2 separate regions of the Homo sapiens genome follow, and region 2 is linked to region 1. The links are contacts of gene promoters, found by promoter capture Hi-C in blood cells and fetal thymus (Javierre and others, 2016). All regions are on one chromosome and are shown on one strand. Each heading gives the region's core, a stretch centred on a gene start or on the middle of the fragment in contact. The rest is flanking DNA. Distances are from core to core; before and after follow the strand shown.

What was found. The method cuts DNA at HindIII sites, captures the fragments that hold promoters and counts their contacts. A CHiCAGO score of 5 or more calls a contact.
Region 2: a contact is called between a fragment that was not itself captured here and the fragment with the promoter of PCDH9 in region 1, in 3 of 17 cell types (M2 macrophages, total CD4 T cells and M1 macrophages). The highest score is 6.6, in M2 macrophages.

The regions. Positions count from the first base shown.
Region 1 is chr13:67,227,875-67,231,859 of GRCh38, reverse strand. PCDH9 (protocadherin 9) reads left to right here and starts at 1,524. Exons shown (of 5, transcript NM_203487.3): 1 at 1,524-2,080; 2 at 3,285-3,985. The coding sequence starts at 3,420. RefSeq lists a silencer at 1,114-1,253. The HindIII fragment of the contact is 4,939 bases long and covers 1-3,985 here.
Region 2 is chr13:64,558,800-64,562,930 of GRCh38, reverse strand. No RefSeq gene overlaps it. Among named protein-coding and RNA genes, the nearest start is that of LINC00355, 480 kb to the right of the region's middle. The HindIII fragment of the contact is 1,090 bases long and covers 2,241-3,330 here.

The DNA of each region.
Region 1 (3,985 bases), core at 275-2,774:
GTCAAGAGCCTTTAATGCCTAGGCAGCCCATTATAGAATGGGGAACACACAGGTTTAAAATAAATGCCCTTTATTCTTCCTGTAAGTTAGACCAAGTTATTCAATCATGTACTAAGACCTTCTCTGACAACCTTTATAGGTCATTCAGAAAATAAATTTTTGTTCCAAGTGAACTGTTCCTATGTTAATGCTTCAAACTTTACTCAGGTATCAGGCGTTAAGTACAAGCCATTACACAAACCTTTGTGGTTTACTGACTTTGAAAGATCAATCAAATATATTACTAGATAGTGCTTTGGGGGTCAGTATTTGAGAAATAAAGCTGTATTTTTTGGGGAGTCATTCCATCCAGTTCCCGTATGAAAACGAGAAACTTGTGAGGATTTAGTACAGAGCTGGAGTCGGAGAAATGAAATGCACGGGAAAAGACGAAAATCACAGGAAAGAAAGTTGGAATCAGCAGAAAGTGCCTAGGGGAAAGGAAGTGTTCCACAGCTTGGGAAACAGCTGCCTGGGACTCCTTCCAGCCCCTCGGAAGCAAAGTTCGCAGTGAGGTGGGCTGGAAGCGGGTTTTGCAGCAGCCGCGAGTCCGGGCTCAGGTTTCCAGGCGCGGCTGGAGCAGAAGTGCAGGGACCGCCACGATCCACCGCCGCGGCCGGTCCCGCTCCGCTAGAGGAGACTTCGCACGCGCAGCCGACTGGCCCGGGCTGACCGAGGGGACCCAGACGCTGCCACTTTCTCTTTCCAAGGCAGTTTCCGTGGCTCTGCATGTAGGAAGTGCTCCGATTAATTTTCTTTCCGGTCTCCGCAGAGATTCCAAATTCTGCGGTCCCCACCTTTCGCTGTACTCCCTCTCCGCCCTTCTTTCCAATGTCCCTGCCAGCAAAAGCCTCTATTTGCAGCACCGGGCATGTTGTCCGTTTAACGCGCTCCGGGGATCTGCTGGCTCGTGCTCCCAACCCAGGGGTGGCTATACGTCTCGCGCCTCTGTTCCTGGGTAGACTCCCCCATCTGTGCATTTTGGCCCCTTCACTTAGCAAAGAGATGTGCGAAGTGTGCGCCTGGAGACGAGCCGCCTCGGTGACCCCCATCCGCCCGCAGCGGTGGCCCTGGTTCCCCGGATCCGCGCCCGCGCCCTGCGGGTCTCCCGCGCCGCCCTTGCCCGCCGGACCACCCGGGCTCAGAGGGTCGCTCGCTTTCAGCGCCTGCGAGCGCCGCTTCCGCCCGGGCCTGGGGAGCGCCAGCGCGTCCCTCCCACGCCGGACCCTGCAGAGCATGCTCAGTGCACCTCATGGAACCCGGCTCTCCTGGGGCCAGGATCAGATTTCCGGGTTTTCGCTGCTGCCGAGGGGGCGCGGAGGAGGGGAGGCTGGGAGACAGTCAGCGCCTTGTTCCGCGCTCCCTCCCTCGCGCCGGGCTGCGGCCGCCCGCGCCGCAAGATGCAGGCCAATCAGAGCCCGGGGGCGGGGCCTGGGCAGTCACGCCCTCCCTCTGGGCTTATTGAGAGTTATATCAAGAAATTCAGTTCAGAGAGAGGAGAGGGAGAAGGAGAGAGGGGCAGAGGGGAAGGGAGAGAGGGAGAGCACGCGAGACGGAAAGGAGCGCCTCAGAGTCTCTGAAGCACGCAAGAGATAACCGATTAGGAATTTTTCGGGCAACTGTCACCCGGATAGCTGTCAGAGAATCATCATCACCGCAACTCTGACGTTTCCTACAAGAAGTTAGAGACTTAAGCAGTATTGGCATCGGATGGAAATGGTATGCATGCTGCTGTGGAAAATATCCCTGAGCTGAAGAAGTGCAACTATGTGTTGTGTGTGCTAAATGCCCAGAAGAACCCAGACCCAGTGGGTAAGAGAGACGAAATGTGGAGAGAATGACTAACGACAAATCCGTGAATTTGTTCTCTGGAGTTGCTAATTTGCCAGCCCGAAGCAACACATTTTACAAGGAGGAAACATTTTGCTGCTTCTGATTTCTCCCCAAACTGGTGCTACCAGATGCATGGCTTTCTATGTGTTGGAACAAATCATTCCTAACTGCAGCATACTGGGAAAGGGGAAAGGTTGAGGCAACTAACGTAAGTGTAAAGTTTCGCATGCACAATTGTAAATTCTGTGTTTAGATGTGTCCTCAGTGTAGGCGAAAGATGCTTGTAATTGGGTAGACGGTTGGGGCAGAGCTCACCTACTCGGCTGTATCTGCATCCCTACCTGCATCACTCTGCCGGAACTAATCGCGGGCATCAGCTACTGTGCAGCCTAATGCAGATAAGATTAGAGCCTGAGAACTGACCAGTCCTACTCAAGTAGGTAGCTGCCTGGAGCCTTGCACCCATTTAAACTGCAGTTATCTAAGCAGAAGCCTTTTTACCTGCATGATTGGGTTGCAGTATTTATGTGTGGCAAATGTTACTAATATTCTAACCAGAGATCAGGATTAAGAAATTGCATTTTTTTTCTCTTTTATGTTCAGTAGAAAATATTGTGATGTTACATGGGAATGTTAGCTGCGTTTCACTTATATCTCGGCACTCTCTTCCACCTCTAGGAAAATGAATCCTATATTATTATACATTTTTAAAAGTTTTAATGTGTTTATGAATCCTAATGAGGATAATTTGTCAATATGGAGAAAGGAGAGCAAGCTGTGGGCAAGAAATCTGAAGTCTTGTTGTTGTGCTTTTAGGCAATGAGGATGTGTAGAGGCCGGTGACTATTGCTTCTGATGCCGCTGCAGCGGCATGTCCGGATGCTCGTTTCCCAGTAAGATTGTATTAGAAGGCAGTTGAAGAACTGGGAGGAAAGAAAAAGATAGCCTTTTTAGAAAAGATAGGTGACTCAGTGGGGCAGAGAAGAAAACACATTTGACATGTGACAAAGCAATTAGCAGGAACCGTAGCTAAATACTTAGTGTTTTTCACTTGCACCTGAAAAGACTGAGGGAGGTAGGTTAGAGGCTAGGAGGAGGGTGAGACAGGGGGAGGGGAAGAGGAGAACAAGAATGCATGTTTTGAATTAAACAGTATTCTGAAAAACAACGTGCGTGAATATAGGTAAAAATAGCAGCTGTCCTTAATTCAAAAGTAGAAAATTTTATTTTCTCCCGGCAAATGCAACCAGCAGGAGATATTTAGTGTTTTTCTCCACAGAGTAAACTTGCAAACAGTGGCAGAGCAAACTGCCATGTTTACTAATGTTCAGGGGAAAATGTGTGGTGATATTTTGTGACGGTGTGTTTTTATTTACTGAAGAATAATATTGTCTATACAATTGTGTTGACAGCGGCTGTCTCCAAATAAGTGATGAGATATAATGCATCCTCCAGTCCATGCACGCTTCCTCTTGCAATTTGTGCATCATTCCTCAGTGGAAACCTTTAAACCCTAAAATCCAGGAAAAGAAAATAAATACATTATCATGGACCTGAGGGATTTTTACCTGTTGGCTGCTCTGATTGCCTGTTTAAGGCTGGATTCCGCAATAGCTCAAGAACTTATTTACACTATTAGAGAGGAATTGCCTGAAAATGTGCCCATAGGAAACATACCAAAGGATCTGAACATTTCTCACATCAATGCTGCCACAGGGACCAGCGCCAGCCTTGTCTACAGACTGGTTTCTAAAGCTGGGGATGCCCCTTTGGTGAAAGTTTCCAGCAGCACTGGGGAAATTTTCACAACCTCCAACAGAATAGACAGAGAAAAACTCTGTGCTGGCGCCTCATATGCTGAGGAGAATGAGTGTTTCTTTGAACTTGAGGTGGTGATCCTCCCCAATGATTTCTTCAGGCTGATCAAAATAAAAATAATTGTCAAGGATACCAATGATAATGCCCCCATGTTTCCATCTCCTGTCATCAATATTTCCATTCCAGAAAACACTTTGATCAACAGCCGCTTTCCAATTCCATCAGCAACAGATCCTGACACAGGCTTCAATGGTGTACAGCATTATGAATTGTTAAATGGGCAGAGTGTTTTTGG
Region 2 (4,131 bases), core at 1,536-4,035, 2.7 Mb after region 1:
TCTGATTAAGGACTCTTATCCAAAATATACAAAGAACTATTTATAACAATAATAAGAAAATAAAATATTCAGTAAAACATGACCAAAGACCTTAACAGACATCTCCCCAAATAAGATGTGTAGATGGTAGATAAGCACATGGCAAGGTAGTCCACATAATACAGCATAAGGGAAATGCAAATGAAAACATCAGTGAGATATCAGCACATACCTATTAGAATGGCCAAAATTTAGAACATGACAACACCAAATGCTGACAAGAATATAGACCAACATTCCTTGTCGATGGAAATAGAAAATAGTAAAGACACTTTGGAAAGCAGTTTCCTACAAAATTAAACATAACTCTTACCACATGATTCAGTAATCATGTTCCTATGGGTAACCAAAGAAGTTAAAAACTATGTCCACAAAAAAAGTACATATGGATGTTTATAGGAGTTTTATTCATAATTGCAAATATTTAGAAGTGACCAAGATGTCCTTCAGTAGGTTAATGCACACATAAATTTTGGTAAATTTAGATAATGGAATTTGAATGCACACTGAAACTAAATGAGTTGCCAAGCCATAAAAAGACAATGAGGAAACTTAAATTCATATTACTAAGTGAAAGTAGTCAATCTGAAAAGGCTATGTACTATATGATTTCAACTGCATGGCACCGTGGAAAAGGCAAAACTGTGGAGACAGTAAAAAGATTGGTGGTTGCTAGAGGATGGGGGAGGAAGGTATAAATAGGCAAAGCACAGAGTATTTTTAGCACAGTGAAAAATATATGATACTATAATGACAGACATACTCCGTTATATATTTATCAAAACACACAGAATGTACAACACCAAGAGTGAACCCTAATGTAAACTATGGACTTTGAGTGATAATGATGTATCAACGTATGTTTACTGATTGTAACAAATGTACCCCTATGGTGGGAATGTTGATGAGGGAGACTATGTATGTGTGGGGCAGGTAGTATATGGGAAATTTCCGCACCTTCCACTCAGTTTGGCTGTATACCTAAAAAATAAAATTTATTAAAAACACATCTTAAACATTAAAAACGTAAAATATAAAAATTACAAACATAAATAAAACAGTCCTAAATAATTAACGTGTCATATGAGTATGTTAATATAAGAAATGACTTCACTAGAATAAATGTACTCAAAGGAACAGAACAGTAAATATAAGCTAGACAAGAACATTCACTAAAACTTATGCAAATATGTCTTAAATCAAGGACAATAAAGTAAATGTCAATTGAAAGTAATTATTTTTCAAGCACCAAAATAATTGATATGTAACATTATTGGGATAGGTATGAAAGAACAAATAATACTCCAACTTTCAAATAGGAAAGTAAACTGATGAGACATTTTAGGACTGTAATTTTTTGAATATATTTAGTATATATTCCTTTTAACTTTAAAAGTCCTCCTCCGGTAATTTTCTTAAGAAAACATTTGAGCAATTGTATAAAGATATATATAATGTTATCTCTTATTAGTTTTGTTTATTTTAGTAAAATTCAGAGGGAAAGGAAAAAATCTATTAATAGGTGGATCATATAATTATATATCCACACAATGAGTACTGTTTAGTCATTATTAATAAAGATGAACATCTGCATATATTGACATGGAAACAATGCCTTCAATATATTGTTCTTCGAGATAAAGATGACTGGTAAAATTAGTCCAAAAGACAAAGAGGAAAGTATTAATTAGGATACATTGCAAAAAAACTGTATATTGTTAAAAAATATAGAGAGCAAAATCCCTACATAATGAACAGAACATCTTACAGTGCTGTGCTTGAGTGACTTTTATATTTTTCAACATATTTCTTTAGTTTATATTATGTAAAGACCATACTCATCATTTTATAATAGATAAAAATTATCTATTGCCATTGAGAAAAAAAATCATAATTTTAATTCTTTTCACCGTCATACATTTAAAAAATTTAACTATGTTCGCTTTTCATTTGAAATGTTTTAACGTTTCAACTTGATACTCATATGAATTTATAATTAAAAAAATCAAAAGTCACTTAAACAAAAAGGAGTAAAAGGGAAGACATTGATAAGACGAAAAACTAGGAAGCTGTAGGCTTATATCCCCCAGTAGATAAATTGAGATTAAAAAAAAATTAAACAAATTAGAGTACCTTTGTGAGAACTAGTTGGACTAGTTGGAAAGCTATAGTACCCAGGTCAACATAAAATCAAGAAAGCTTCCCAGAAAACGGGGTGAGATTATTTGTGATATTTGCATGCCTGTCCATGCCCCTCATTTGATGTGTCGCAGTGAGGTGCAACTGGGAGGAAACTTCCCATGCCAGGAGTCCGCCCTTAGGATAGAAAAAGAGTAGAGTTCATTGAGCTCCTAACATTCTGACTTTACTGGGAGCTGCATGAAGGACAGGTTTCTGTCTCACATGACTTAGTCCACAACAGTTTGGAAGCTGCTGAAAATGGGCAACGTAGCACATTAGAGCTGCAATTAGAGCACATTAGAGCTGCAGCATTGTATATCTAATTAAAATAAGAAAAATGGTACATGTATAAAGTAAGAATATCAGCAAAGAAAAACTATTTAAAAAGAACCAAATGAAATATAGTCTTGAAAAATTCGGTAACTAGTAAAAAATTATTTGTACAAAATAATCTATTTTTTTAAATACTATAACTTATTTAAGCACAGCTAAAGTGGTTAAAGTGGTAAAAACAGATTTTATTCAGAAATTTCTGACAGCAGCAGCAGGCAGAGATTTTAATGGTGTAGGGAGCTGGAGTCATTTTAGGAACAAGATCTTATGTTGCTAGAAACTATGCTAGAGCTTGTTCAAGTCTCTTAACACAGAGGTTTGGATAGAGTTATCATGTTCCAAGAGTTTTATAATTCTCAAACTGAACTAAAAAAATTCACTACAGAGATTCAACACTAGACTTGATCAGAGGAAAGAATCAGCAAACCTAAAAACAGGCCATTTGAAATTACTAAATAAGAGAAGCAAAAAGCAAAAAAACAAAGAAAAATAGAGTGTAAGGGAATTATGGGAAACTATCAAGCCAACAAATATAGTCATTATATAAGTCCCAGATGGAGAAAAAATAGAGAAATAATAAGAAAGTTCACTGGAAGATACGAAGGCCAAAGAAGTCCCAATTTTGAGTAAAGAAATCGTAATAAAAATTTAAGAAGCTCAATGTAATTTAATTAGAATAAAACTGATGATCCCCACATAAAGACATATTATAATCCAATTGTCAAAGACAAAGAGACTTGTGAAAGCAAGATAAAAGTATTTCATTATAAGGAAGCTTCCAAAAGATTAAATATATTAACCCTCTCCTCTCTGGCTTTCAAGATTTCTCCTGAGAAGATGATATATTCAAAGGACTAAAAGAAAAGAAAAATAAATAAATTAATAAAATCTACAAACAAGAATGCTATGTCTTACAAACTGAAGAAAAATTAAAACTACTCCAGATAAATAAAATCTGAGAAAGTTCACTACAATTAGACCTGTTCTACGAAGTTGTTGAAAAAAATATAAAAACATGGACAAAAATAGTAACCTTATATTATTGCAACTTTGGTCATTTTTAATTCTTAAATAAAATTAGGACAAAATCATTGTGAAAAACTATAAATCTGTGCTAATGGTTATATAACATGTAAAGTTATAATTTGTTTCATTGATAATATACAGTATGGGATGAAGTTGTAAAGGAGTACAGTTTTTCTAGGTAATTAAAATTATTAGCTTAACATAAAGTTATTATTAGCTTAAAATAGAATGTTATAACTTTAAAATGGTTTTGTAATTGCAATGGTAACCACAAAAAATGTATTAGCCAAATATACACAAAATGAAATGAGAAGGAAATTAAAGCATGTCACAATAAATATCAATGAAACACAAGAAAGGCAGTACAAGAGGAGAGAAGGAACAAAGAAGTTGTAAAACAAACAGAAAAAACAATTAACAAAATGACAAAAGTCTTTCTCTATTAATAATTATATTATATGTAAATAGATTAGCTACTCAATCAAAAGAAAGGTTGGCTGAATGGATTTAAAAAGAAGATTCAACTCTATGCTATCTATAAGACATACGTTA